3 separate regions of the Homo sapiens genome follow, and all the other regions are linked to region 3. Evidence: promoter capture Hi-C in 16 types of primary human blood cells and fetal thymus (Javierre and others, 2016). All regions are on one chromosome and are shown on one strand. Each heading gives the region's core, a stretch centred on a gene start or on the middle of the fragment in contact. The rest is flanking DNA. Distances are from core to core; before and after follow the strand shown.

What was found. Contacts are between HindIII fragments. The CHiCAGO score rates a contact against its expected background, and 5 or more counts as called.
Region 1: a contact is called between the fragment with the promoter of RPSA here and the fragment with the promoter of NKTR in region 3, in 2 of 17 cell types (monocytes and total B cells). The highest score is 7.7, in monocytes.
Region 2: a contact is called between the fragment with the promoter of LIMD1-AS1 here and the fragment with the promoter of NKTR in region 3, in 1 of 17 cell types (neutrophils). The highest score is 5.3, in neutrophils.

What each region holds. Positions count from the first base shown.
Region 1 is chr3:39,405,282-39,409,541 of GRCh38, reverse strand. It overlaps RPSA (ribosomal protein SA), which reads right to left and starts at 2,822. Exons shown (of 7, transcript NM_002295.6): 1 at 2,778-2,822; 2 at 1,756-1,921; 3 at 818-936. The coding sequence starts at 1,888. It overlaps SNORA6 (small nucleolar RNA, H/ACA box 6), which reads right to left and starts at 1,151; the gene lies at 1,003-1,151. RefSeq lists enhancers at 1-724, 2,789-2,928, 2,310-3,101 and silencers at 994-1,043, 2,439-2,618. The HindIII fragment of the contact is 4,276 bases long and covers 901-4,260 here.
Region 2 is chr3:45,686,683-45,691,589 of GRCh38, reverse strand. It overlaps LIMD1-AS1 (LIMD1 antisense RNA 1), which reads left to right and starts at 2,708. Exons shown (of 3, transcript NR_033947.1): 1 at 2,708-3,214. It overlaps SACM1L (SAC1 like phosphatidylinositide phosphatase), which reads right to left and starts at 2,194. Exons shown (of 20, transcript NM_014016.5): 1 at 2,093-2,194. The coding sequence starts at 2,124. It overlaps TRR-ACG2-1 (tRNA-Arg (anticodon ACG) 2-1), which reads left to right and starts at 2,519; the gene lies at 2,519-2,591. RefSeq lists a silencer at 2,003-2,182 and enhancers at 2,213-2,502, 2,763-2,812, 3,323-3,392. The HindIII fragment of the contact is 5,339 bases long and covers 1,175-4,907 here.
Region 3 is chr3:42,598,962-42,603,232 of GRCh38, reverse strand. It overlaps NKTR (natural killer cell triggering receptor), which reads right to left and starts at 2,547. Exons shown (of 17, transcript NM_005385.4): 1 at 2,455-2,547; 2 at 2,169-2,249. The coding sequence starts at 2,226. It also overlaps a transcript of SEC22C not described here. RefSeq lists a silencer at 2,244-2,453. The HindIII fragment of the contact is 13,164 bases long and covers 1-4,271 here.

The DNA.
Region 1 (4,260 bases), core at 1,573-4,072, 3.2 Mb after region 3:
TACTGCCAGATGCCCAGCATGTATGTTGAAAAGGTCTTACAGGCTGGGCGCAGTGGCTTACGCCTGTAATCCCAACACTTTGGGAGGCCGAGGTGGGAGGATCACTTGAGATCAGGCGTTTAAGACCAGCCTGGCCAAATGGTAAAACCATGTCTCTACTAAAAATACAAAAATCAGTCAGGCATGGTGGCACATGCCTGTAATTCCAGCTACTCGGGAGGATGAGGCAGGAGAATCCCTTGAGCTTAGGAGGCAAAGGCTGCAATGAGCCGATATCACACCACTGCAGTCCAGGATGGACAACAGGCAACAGAGCGAGAGACTGTCTTGAAGGAAAAAAAAAAAAAAAAAAAAAAAGGAAGGTCATAGGTCATAAGGGCGATTTCTATGGCTCAGTCCAACTTAAGATCTCTTAACAGTGGAGTTTGAGTTTTCTATTTTCTTTTTTTTTTTTTTTGAGACAGAGTCTCGGCTCTGTCACCCAGGCTGGAGTACAGTGGCGCATCTCAGCTCACTGCAAGCTCCGCCCACCGGGTTCACGCCATTCTCCACTTTGGCCTCCTGAGTAGCTGGGACTACAGGCACCCGCCCCCACGCCCAACTAATTTTTTGTATTTTTAGTAGAGATGGGGCTTCACCGTGGTGTGGATCTCCTGACCTCGTAATACGCCGGACTCCACCTCCCAAAGTGCTGGGATTACAGGCGTAGCCACCGCGCCCGGCCTGAGTTATTTCTGTTTTCTTATGTCTTTCTATGTCTCACAATGTCTGTAAGCTTTATTTCTATAATATAAAAACTAACCACTGTTCCACAAACCTGGCCAGTATTCCTGGAGGATATAACACTGACATCAGCAGGGTTTTCAATGGCAACAATTGCACGAGCTGCCAGCAGAAGCTTCTCCCAGGTCCTCTTGAGATTTATGATATAGATGCCTAAGTGAGGGCAGAAGGATTTGTAACACTTGACCTGGCTGTGCAAACATTCTTCTCAAGTTTACTCTATGTGGCAGCGAGTACTACCAAACTCCAGTCATAGAGGCAAGCTCTACTGGTGTTAGCGAAAATCCTGCCATTGATATAGCACACTTCCGACACTCAGAAGTTCATGAGCCAAGACTGGCCTCCACCCTGAGCTTTAATAGTGTGCAGCCTAGATTCAGTTGGCTAAATCCATCTTTCCTTTCTCTTTCCCTGTACTTATTCCATCATTGGTTCTTAATAATCCACTTCCTGGCTTTCTGCCACTCTTTCCCTTTTATAATCTGCACTGATGCAAGATTCATCCTAAAACTCCTTTACAGCATGTCACTCCCAAGTCCTTGGTAGCTTTATCTCTAAAATAAGTAAGTGCCTTAGCCAACTTAATGCCTTCCATCCTCTGGTTCTTCCAAACCATATTGTTCATTCCCACCTCTTACCCCACTTTCCACTCAAAATTCAGTTCAATAGCCTGTGTAAGTACCTATGAAGTTGAAGGCACTATGCGAGCTATTAGAAACTCAGCCAATGAACTTTCTCATGTTCATGACCCAACCCAAGTCCCGTAACTCAGACAACTGACATATTCCTCCCCTGGAGCAGAAATCTTTTCTCTCAATAACAAGAACATTTATTTAAAGTATGTTTTCAACGTAGGGGTCTGGCTTCATTTAAGGAAGATAGAAAGAAATTACCCAGAACTAACCACGAGAATAGCAAGCTCAAAATTTGTACTTACAGCTGGAGTAACAAAAAATTAAAGCAATGACTAACCATCACTTTTCCTTTTATAGATGTACTGTTCCATCTGGAAGTCAAGATTGGTGCCACCTAAGTGGGTTCCTGCTGCAAGGAACTTAAGGACATCCTCCTCCTTCATTTGCAGGACATCAAGGGCTCCGGACATTGTGAAAATTTCCCTTTAAGTTACGACGGGAATCTGAAATAAGAGAGCAACCTATTTCTTTTCATTCCATTGAGTTAAGTAGGGCACACCCTTAAAAGCAACCAAAAACTCCATCTGCTATAGTGTCAGGCATTGAGCTTACAGTGTAGTGAAGGGTAAACAGAAAGTTAACCCATACATGTCGTGTATTACGGAACAGCGCACATCTTACTGAGGAAATAGTGTGGACGGCAGAGTAACCGAGTAATAAAACTACACGAAATTAGCGAATGGAAATTCAACACTTCTCAAGATAGGAATTAAGGAAAAGTTGTGGATGCGCCAAGTTAACAACTAGATACAAAAGAGCAGCCATGTTTGGAATATGCAAACTAAAGGCAAAAAAGGCATGAATTGTTTTCAGACATTTTCAAGCAGATTGTAGGCGGATGCTTTGGAATTACTTCGCTGTGCTGTCACCACTTGTTTGTCTAAAAACCCGAGAACCTTAACTCCTGACCCGCACGGCGCGAAGGGAAAACCCGACCAGCCCAAGTAGCTGGTGTAAATCAGCGCCTGGGCCTAGACTCACCGCCGTGTGGGACTCCGAAGGGATAGCAACACAGGATGTTAGCCCGCTTTCTGCACTCCCGCCCACCCGCGGCCTGGTCCGAACCCCAGCTCGGAGCCTCCGCTGGAGGGCGGCCTCCACCCGCTCCCGGGGCACTCTGGGAACCCGCCAGCCCGAGCCTGGCCACGTGCGGGCCGCAGGCCTAAGGTGGGGCGCGCCGGGCGGGAGACAGATCCAGTCTGACCGGCTTTCATCACTAGTCTTCTCACCCTTCATTTGAGCAGGAAAAGCTCATTTTTCTAGCCCTGGAAGGCGCCAGGGACGCTACACGGAACTCACCCAGAACAACGCCGTATGGACCCCTCTGCAGGTAGCACGGAAAAGACAGGCGGCAGGAAATGACGTCCTTATGTACTCCGTTGTCAGCCAATGGCAAAGAAAGTCGAGCGGAAGAAGGGCGGAGCCGGAGAAGAACGCTGCCGGGACTGGGCTTTTTCTTCAGGAAGGCGGGCTTGCGCCGCAGGAGCGGGCCTCTGGGCTGTAGCCGGTAGCGGCATCCTGGTCGGATCTGGGGCGCTTGTGACTTTGGGGTTTCTAGTGCCACAGCGACGCCCTGTGCATAATTCCTGTCCAGAGCGCGGAACTCAAGTTAGTCAGCCAGGCGGGGCGTTCTTACCCAGCCCTTGTACCTGCGAATATGAGCGGCTTTCTAGCCTAAGCTGCCATTTTGTTACCTGAAAAGTAGGAAGGTTTGTTCGACACAACAAATTGTTAGGTAAACAAAAACTTGAAGATTTATTTTATTTTATTTTCCTGGAGAACAGTTTAACAGGACGTAATTCAGATTTAAATGTTCACTTAAGGGAAGTTTTCTCTGAAAAAGTTAAAAAAGATAAGATTGAACTGATCGTATGCGTTATGTCTATCTCATGTATCTATCCATCTATCACCTGGGGGAAGTTTCCCTGAAAAAGTTAAAAAGGACAAGATTGAACAGATGGTATGGATTATATCTATCTTTTTTTTTTTTTTTTTTTTGGTAGAAGAAAAATTTTGCAATATCCATCAGTAGGAGATAAGTTTGCCGGGCGCGGTGGCTTGTGCCTGTAATCCCAGCACTTTGGGAGGCCGAGGTGGGTGGATTGCCTGAGCTCAGAAGTTCAAGACTAGCCTGGGAAACATGGGGAGACCCCCATCTCCACAAAAAATACAAAAATTAACCAATCATGATGGTGCGTCCCTGTAGTCTCAGCTACTCAGGAGGCTGAGGCAGGAGGATAGCTTGAGCCTAGAGGTCAAGTCTGCAGTGAATGTGATTGCACCGCTGCACTCCAGCCTGGGCAATAGAGCGAAATTCTGTCTCCAAAAAACAAACAAAAAAATAGGAGTTAATTGAAGGGGCGCGGTGGCTGTAATCCCAGCACTTTCGGAGGCTGACGCGGGCGGATCCCTTGAGGCCAGGAGTTCAAGAGACCAGCCTGGCCAACATGGCGAAACCCGGTATCTACTAAAAATTCAAAAATTAGCCAGGCATGCCTGTAATCCCAGCTACTGGGGAGGCTGAGGCGGGAGAATTGCTTGAACCCAGGAGGCAGAGGTTGTAGTGAGTGGAGATTGCGCCACTTGCACTCCAGCCTGGGCGACAGAGTAAGACTCCGTCAAAAAAAAAAAAAGTGCAGGTTCCTCTCTGGGGCCTGCTGAGTCAATCTGATTTCTGAGCCCACCCTAAAATGAACTCGTAGACCCTTATGGCCACTCTTCCAAAGGACAGCACATCCAGGTTCTCCTGCAAGTGGCTCTGCAGCTCCACTGAAGCCAGTAT
Region 2 (4,907 bases), core at 1,459-3,958, 3.1 Mb before region 3:
CAACATTTAAATAAATCCTTTTAGCAATCCTTTTGTAATAAAATAATCGAACTATCTCTTTTGCATGGATATTTCTTAAAACACATCTCCAGACACATTTTAAAAAATGGCTACTATCTCCTACCAATTCTTACACAGAAACCAATTTCACTTCTAAATGCATCCAAAAAAGAATACTCCTTAGGGCAGGAGCCACATTTGAAAACCTTCAACAGCAGCCTCAGAGCAGGAAGGGCCAAAAGGAAGGAATAAAAATGGAAACTCTAACTCATAAACCCCTTGGTAAAGAAAAAGGTGCAAAAAAGTTGTACCTTCACATTTACAGAAACACTCTAAACTTTTTTTTCAGGGGGAAAAAAAGCTAGGACTGACAAATGAGAGAATGACTTTCACATAACCCCAGTTTGACTTTATCACCCAAATAATTTAAGAGTTTCCACTTCTCACAAAAATCAATACAAAAACATCATTCTTACTACTTCAGGGACAAATTTCCTTTCTCTTTTATGTATGCGAGGATTTGGGTTTGTTTTAAGGTCTGAACTGGTTAAATTTAGTGTTCTGGCAGCTGAAAAACAATCATCATAATTCTCAAGTTCTCCATCCTATTCAATCTTTGCCACGCTAAGCTGCATGAAGCCATGGCTCCATATGGCTTAAACACATTTGAGACCTGGTGTAGGATCACATTAAACCCTTCAGTGCCTATCAGATACACAATAACCTAATTAGCTAGCAGAGCACATGTGACAGTGGCCTGGCCAGAAACGCAGTGGAAGACACTTCCTTCAACTCTTTCACCAAAGACGAGGTGAGCACTTTGCAAAGGGGAACTGGGAGAAAATAGGGAAAGGTGGAGAGGAAAATGTGGAGGGAAGTGTGCAGCTAGGGTTTTCAAAGAACATTACAGTAAACAGAAATGGCACCCACAGGGGGTGCACTGTAGAAAAAGCAATCATCTTTTTTGCAACACATACAATGTGGAATAGATGACCTCTCTGAATTTTGCACCTCTAACTTTCCACTGAACCTTTCAGAAAGTTACTAGTGAGGTTGAGGTCTGAGGAGCTTAAGTGCCCAAACCACATTTTGGTGTCATTTCCCTGCAAAAGAAATGCGGTATCTATGCCTAACTGCCAAGGTATTTTAGCTCATATACAGGGATAGATAAGCTTCTAAAAAATTACATTTGTTTCTCCTACCAGATATTCCCAGGCTGTGGCCACCAGATTTTCAAACAGCCTAGGGGTAAAGCATTAAACACGAAGTGAGTACAACAAAATTATTCACAGACAAGAAAAGTGTGGATGCTAATGGGTAACACTAAGGGAAATAAACACATGTTGTTTTTAATCCAAGACAAACCAAAACCCTTAAAAACACCTATTTTATAACTCTTAACAACCACAGCCTCTGTATCAAAGACTCAAGAACTTGGATTTACCGAAAAGTCAATTTGCAGTACCAAAATTACCGAGATTAGCCTCTGGCTGTCGACACTGACTTAAGAACCTGCTTTAGGCTGGAGCTGTTTAAAATTTAAACCAAAGTAAACTCCTTCAGGACCTTAAGACTACTGACTGTACTTTAAATTTTTTCTGCACACTGAAGAGGGGGCAGGCAGGCTTCGGTACCCAGATAGGCTGTAAGCAAAACAAAGATTTGTTGATTTGTGCGTAGACTCTAAATTGCTGCTGTAGGTCCGTTAAGTAAGAGAAAACTCTTTTTCTCTGTTAAGTCATACAGATAAATTTAGTCGGTAGCTCTGCATAGAAAGTGGGGACAAGCGTGCCCTGAAGGGCCGCATCATAACGCCGACCCCGGCTCGGTGGGGGCCAGTCGGCAGCTTCTCTCTTCAGCCGTGGGCGCTGGGGCCGAGCACGGTGGAGAAAGGCCGGCGAGCCGCTGGTTCCCGGCCTATGGCTACTCGGGCGAGGCCTAGGAGAGGCCGCGCCGGCTGAGGAAAACCGGTAAATGCGAGGAGCTCCCACACCCTATCTGCAATCCGGGACTCAGAAGCCCTCCCCGAGGCCAGGGCCCGCACCTGCCGCCCCGCCCGCCGCGCCTCAGGCCTCTGGCCCGTGGGACTCACAGCTTCAGCTGCTCGTAGGCCGCCGTCGCCATCCTGCACAACCACCTCCTTCCTTCTCTCTCCGCCCGCCCCGCCCCGCGCCGCCACCTCGGCTACAACTCTACCGGTCACCCTGGCACAGCGGCCGCAGCTCCCAGCCTCTTCCCACCCCTTTCCCCGCCCCGCAGGAGAGCCGGCCTGAACGGGAGGCGGTGGAGGACAAATTAGTGCGCAAGCAAGAGCACGCGAGAGATGCCGCCGACGCGGCGGGTTGGAGTGCGACGAAGAGCGCCGTGACGAAGCCGCTGCGGATTGGTGGGGCGCGTTTTGGGGAAAGGCAGAGCAGCGGGAGCGCGGCGCAAGGGCAAAATGGATCGTTGGTACCCGGAAGCCCGTTCAAACTGTATAAGGGTGATCAGCTATCACGGAGAAGGCTTTAGCAAGTCGGGGCCAGTGGCGCAATGGATAACGCGTCTGACTACGGATCAGAAGATTCTAGGTTCGACTCCTGGCTGGCTCGCGATGTCTGTTTTGCCACACTTGACCCATGTACTACTGGGTCTTGTAAAGATGTATATTCACAATGTGAAAGTATTACAAGACCTTGGAAAGGTGTATGGTTAGAATGTGAAAGTTAAATATCTGAAATTTTGATGCCGCTTTGCTCACAATGTCATCCTTTATCCTTTAAACCTGGAGTTGTCTGAGGTGGTTTGCAAACTGCAAAGCGCCCTGTTCCCAATGATGCACCTGAGAAGTCTGTAAATGGGGTAAATTTAGGCAAACACACCTGGAAAAGTGGCATTTTGGAGTGGGGAATGCTGTGGCCGGAGGTTAGCAACCGGATGATGCAAAAGCGTATTTAAGGCAGCAGTTCTGGCCTTTCCCCGCCACGGAGCAGAAGCCCCCATAGTGATGTGAGAAGCGGCGCTGTCCCAGTTTACTAGGATGGGATGGGCTTTGGATCTAACCAGCAGCGAAGAAAACCTGCGGTGCGGCTGCGCTCGGTAGTAGGGGTCCACAAAGCGTCAGAATCTGCAGCAGCCCCGGCCTTTGCGAGCTCCAGCTCCGAAGTCAACCCGGCCCCCAAATTCCACTGGGAAACCTTAAGACACCGGTGTTTTTACCGTAAGAAGACCTCAGGTAATCTAGTATATTACCCCTCATTGTATGGATGCGCGACTTGGACACCCGAGAAGGCGCGAAACGTCTGCGGCCTAAAGGGACTCGAACCGGGGGATTATATGAGTCATCGGACACTGTCCGTTAACCAATCACTCAATCGATCAATTAATTTCCGCAACATAACGTTTTCCCCTGATAAAATTATAGATTTTTAAAATATATAAAATTATTGGGAATATTAACGCGATTCCCACCCTAAATCATTACTATTATTTTTTTTTTCCTTAAAGCCTTTTTTTCTTCTATATTTTTTAACATGGGCATACTTGCACATGTGTTTTTCCAAATTGGGGTTGTACGGAAATGGGTTCCTCATTTTGTCTCCTTACCTTTTTGTCTGAGATTTAAGGTCATTAAATATTCTTTGAAGATATTTCATCAGAGAGCTAGATATTTTAAGCAGAATCCTTATGCTGGGAATTTGGGTGGTTGTCAGTTTAACACCTAGAAAAAATGATGCTGCTTAGGAGTTCGAGACCAGCCTGGGCAACATAGCAAGACCTCATCTCTATTTACTAAATAAATAAATAAATTTTAATTAGCCAGGTGTGGTGGTGTGCACCTATAGTCCTAGCTACTCAGGAGGCTGAGGTGGGAGGATCACCTCAGCCCAGGAGGTTGAGGCTGCAGTGAGCTGTTACCATGCCACTGCACTCCAGCCTGAGCAACAGAATGAGACCCTGTGTTGAATTATTATTATTTTGAGACGGAGTCTCGCTCTGTCACCCAGGCTGGAGTGCAGTGGCGTGATCTCGGCTTACTGCAGTCTCTGCCTCCCGGGTTCAAGCAATTCTCCTGCTTCAGCCTCCCAAGTAACTGGGACTACAGGTGTGTGCCACCACGCCCGACTAATTTTTTGTATTTTTTAGTAGAGACGGGGTTTCACCGTGTTAGCAAGGATGGTCTTGATCTACTGATCTCGTGATCCGCCCACCTCAGCCTCCCAAAGTGCTGGGGTTAGATGTGAGCCACTGTGCCCGGCCGAATTATTTGTCTTACAAATTTCTAGAGGTGGAACGACCAGGTGGACATCTGTAAGGTCCATTTTATGGACATTTTTAAGACTTTTGTTACTTTCTGACTGCCCTCCAAAAAATTAAACCAAAACACACTTCCATCAACAGCACCTGTTTCTCTGTTTTCGTGCATGCTAACCAACACTGGCTATTATAAATTTAACCGTGATTTGCAATTTTCATAATTGGAATATGGAACTTCCTTTTACATGTACTTTATATATTTTCTCTTGATGTATTGAATTTTTTCTTACAAATTTGATTTTTTAATATATTAAGGGTATTAACTCTTAAATACGTTGCAATCTTTTTTCCAGCTTATGATTTACCTTTTCAAAATTTTTTTAACGGCTGGGCACGGTGGCTCATGCCTGTAATCCCAGTGCTTTGGGAGGCCAAGGCAGGTGGATCTCTTGAGGTCAGGAGTTCGAGACCCGCCTGGCCAACATGGTGAAACCCTCTCTCTATTTAAAAATACAAAAATTAGCAAGGCATGGTGGTGTGTGCCTGTAGTCCCAGCCACTCAGGAGGCTGAGGCAGGAGAATTGCTTGAACCTGGGAGGTGGAGGCTGCAGTTGGCTGAGATCACGTCACTGCACTCCAGCCTGGGTGACACAGTGAAACTCTGTCTCAAA
Region 3 (4,271 bases), core at 1,298-3,797:
ATGCCTGGCTAATTAAAAAAAAATTGTTTTTTGTAGACAGGGTCTTGCTATATTGCCCAGGCTGGTCTCAAACTCCTGGGTTCAAGCAATCCTCCTGCCTGGGCCTCCCTAAGTACTGGGATTACTGGTATGAGCCACCATGCTTGGTCATACTTCTACTCTTCAGCAATCTACTATTTTTCTTTTCTTTTCTTTTTTTTTTTTTTTGAGACAGGGTCTCACTCCGTCACCCAGGCTGACATGCAGTGGTATAATCTCTACTCACTGCAACCTCTGCTTCCCAGGCTCAAGCAGTCCTTCAGTCTCAGCCTCCCAAATAGCTGGGACTACAGGCAAAAACTAAGAGAGCCACCATGCCCAGCTAATTTTTTTATTTTTTGTAGAGATGGGGTTTCGCCATGTAGGCCAGGCTGGTCTCGAACTCCTGACCTCAAAATGATACACCCGCGTCTGCCTCCCAAAGTGCTGGGATTACAGGCGTGAGCTATTTTTAATTCTTAATAGAAAATAACCCTGTTATCTAAAGCATGGATTCACTACAAAATAAAGATTAAGGTCCATCAAGGCTTTCTAGTAACACTTATTTAAAAAAAAAAAAAAAAAAGATCAATCAAGGCTAAAAACATTAAAAAGAGAGAGAAGGCAACCAAATTTCCAGGATTATCTCATCCCTTTGCTCGAAACCCTTTAATATCTTCCTACCTCACTGAGTCAGTCCTACAGGCCATTTCTTACTATTCTCTTTCCTCTTCTACTCCAGCCACACTGGGCACCCTGCTGTCCCTCAAACATGCAAGTACAGTCCTCCATTGTTTAATAACCAGGACGGATTCTGAGAAATGTGTAATTAGGCAATTTCGTCATTGTGTGAACATCATGGAATGTATTTAAACACACCTAGATGGTACGGCCTACTACACACCTAAGCTATATAGTCTATTTGCTCCTAGGCTACAAACCTGTACAGGATGTTACTCCACTGAATACCGTAGGCAACTTTAACACAATGAAGTATTTGTATATCTAAACACAGCTAAACATTAAAAAGTTACCAAAAAAAGGTATTATATATAAGACCATTGTTAAAGATAGAAATGTCATTTGGCGCCTGACTGTATACTACTCCTCACCTCAGGGCTGTGCTGTTTCCCTCTACCACGAATGCTCTTCTTAAATACGGCTCACTTCATCTCCTTCTGATACCTGCTTAAATCTCATCTTCTCAAAATGGCCTTGTCTGACCAACTTATTAAAATAGTATCCCAACTACAAGTCACTGTTATTTTTTTCCTAGTTGTCCGTCTTCCCCCCAATAGAATATAAACTATAAAAGGAAGAGGCCTTTGTTTTATGCGCTGCTCTATCTCCAGACCCTAGAACAGTAGCAGGCTCTCATAAGAATATGCAGAACAAGATGTTGCACAAAGACAACACATATATATATGTCTCCAATTAAAACTTTTGTCACGGATAACAAAAAAAGCTAAGAAAACAGTTTGAAACCCTGCACGCTCTGCTACTTAGAATGAAATAACTATGCTTTAGAAGGAAATGTTTCATTTAAAAAAAATACACTAACAAATGTCTGGATTCCCTAAAGACAAACATTAATGCTAAGTGCATGCATGCTGCAATTCTGCTGGTACAAAATGCTCTGGTTTATCACAAAAGATCTTCACTAAGCCATTTTCCCAGGAACCACGAAATTCTAGCTAAAGATTCTTAAGGAAAAATAGAGGCAAAATTAACATATTAGTGATATATCGTGATTAGGAAACACACAATATTTCCTACTAGTTGAAACTTCATAGCACCAAGCAAGATAACCGGAAATCGGATCGGGAGTGTCTGCCTCACGGAGACACTGGGAGAGAAAAAGTCCTCAAAGAACTGCACCTCCTTTTCTTGGCGCCAGGCTGGCTACGAGGACTCAGTCCGGAGATGCAGCGGGGTGTGTGGGGTTTGGCAGGAAGAGGCCCGGACTGCGAGTTAGGGGTGTGCCCAGGCCACCTTCCTCTCCCACTGATTTTCTCTCAAGAGAAAACGGAAAGTTGCCTGCGCCTCCTACCCGCTCCCAAAAAGGCCGGGGGAGGGTTGCTGAGGGTAGACCCCTCCCCTTCGCCAAGGCAGGCCTCGGCCCCAGCAGCGCTCCCCAGTTTCCAGCTCACCCGGCTCCCGGTTGATCTCGATGTCGAAGTGGCACTGCGGCCGGTCCTGCGCCCCCATCGCGACCGAGGTGGCGGCAAGAGCTGGGAGAGAGGGGGAGAAAAGCGGTCAGGGCAGGGGCGAGGGCGGGGGCGAGGGCAGGGGCGAGGGCGGGGCTGAGACGAAGTCCGCGCCACGGTGCCTCACGCCGGCCCGTCGCGACAGCGCAGGAGGCCAAGACGAGGCCCCCTCCCGCCCCGGGCCTCGCGGCTCCCACGCAGCGCGCACGCATGCGGGCGAGCTCTTCACCTGGCTGGCCTCCAGCCTGAGCGGGTCCCCGTGAGCAGAAGAGAAAGCACTGCCACTGCAGCCAAACCCCAACGCCGCTAACGGAACGCCGTCTCCTCCCCCAGGCCGGGCCTCCCAATGCCACGCTAAACCCCGCGAGAGTCGGGACAAATACCGCGAGAGTACAGTCTAGATGGGGGTGGTCAACCGAAGGTGGCGGCAGCGGGGGCGTACGCACGGGGGCGTACGCACGGGGGCGTGTCTGGGGAGCTCTCGAGGAGCCTCCAGCCAGCGCTCCTATACCTGCGCGTTCCCTGTTTGCCCCCCCCTTTGAAGTCAGTCGCCCAATCTGAAAGCCGTGGATGCGCCTGCGCCCTCCATCTCGTCAGGTGTGGCTGTGAGCGCCGCGCATTTTCCGATACCGCGAGACTTCTCTGTTTCCGAGCGCTGTGAAGGAACTGAGTGAATTGAGGCTTTGAGTTTTCGTTAGCCAAGACGTTGTGTTGCTCTGTGTTCTTTTTGGCCGGGAGTGGTTATGTCCGTGTCCTACTGTTAGGTCTTTTAGGCTGAAGAATGCGTTCCTTCCCGCTTTGGCACCAGCGTCACTGGCACCGTTTTTGTCCTGTGCTTACTGACCATTCTGCATCTTTTGTGAAGTTTCAGTTCCAGTCTTCTGCCCGTTTTTAAATCTGGTCCTTCGTGTTTAACAGTTCTGGATACAAATGTTTTGTTAGATATATGTATGCTCTGAATGAAAATCTTTTGTTACATAAATGATTGCGAAGTCTTTTTCCCAATCTGGGCCTGTCGTTTCATTGTTTTGACGTTTTTGGCAAAGAAGTTTTTAATTCTGATTAAGTCAATTGGTCAGTTTTATATTTTAATGGTTTGTGCTTTTCCTGTGCTAGGAAATCTCTGCCTACCTCAAGTTCTTGAAGATATTCTGTGTTCTCATATATGTTTTACATAGTCTTTAACGTGTAAGTCTATGATATGATCTAATATCATTAATTTTTGCTTATGTTGTCAAGTAAGTGTCAACATTTTCCTATTGGGATATACAGTCGTTCCATTACCGTTTGTTGAAAAGACTCTTTTTTTTTTTTTTGAGACGGAGTCTCGCTCTGTCGCCCAGGCTGGAGTGCAGTGGCGGGATCTCGGCTCACTGCAAGCTCCGCCTCCCGGGTTCACGCCATTCTCCTGCCTCAGCCTCCCAAGTAGCTGGGACTACAGGCGCCCGCCACTACGCCCGGCTAATTTTTTGTATTTTTAGTAGAGACGGGGTTTCACCGTTTTAGCCGGGATGGTCTCGATCTCCTGACCTCGTGATCCGCCCGCCTCGGCCTCCCAAAGTGCTGGGATTACAGGCGTGAGCCACCGCGCCCGGCCTGAAAAGACTCTTATACATTGAATTACCTTCGCCTTGTGACCATATATGTGTGGGTCTGTTTCTGGATTTTTGTTCCAATGATCTGTGTCTGAGTACCACACTATTTTATAAGTTTTTTTTTTAAACTATAAAATACACATTACATGGGCGGGCGTGGTGGCTCATGCCTGTAATCCCAGCACTTTGGGAGGCCGAGGCAGGCGGATCACGAGGTCAGGAGATCGAGACCATCCTGGCTAACACGGTGAAACCCTTTCTCTACTAAAAATACAAAAAATTAGCCGGGCGTGGTGGCGGTCGCCCGTAGTCCCAGCTACTCGGGAGGCTGAGGCAGAAGAATGGCGTGAACCTGGGAGGCAGAGCTTGCAGTGAGCCGAGATCGGTCCACTGCATTCCAGCCTGGGTGACAGAGCGAGACTCCGTCTCAAACAAAAAAAATCTATCTATA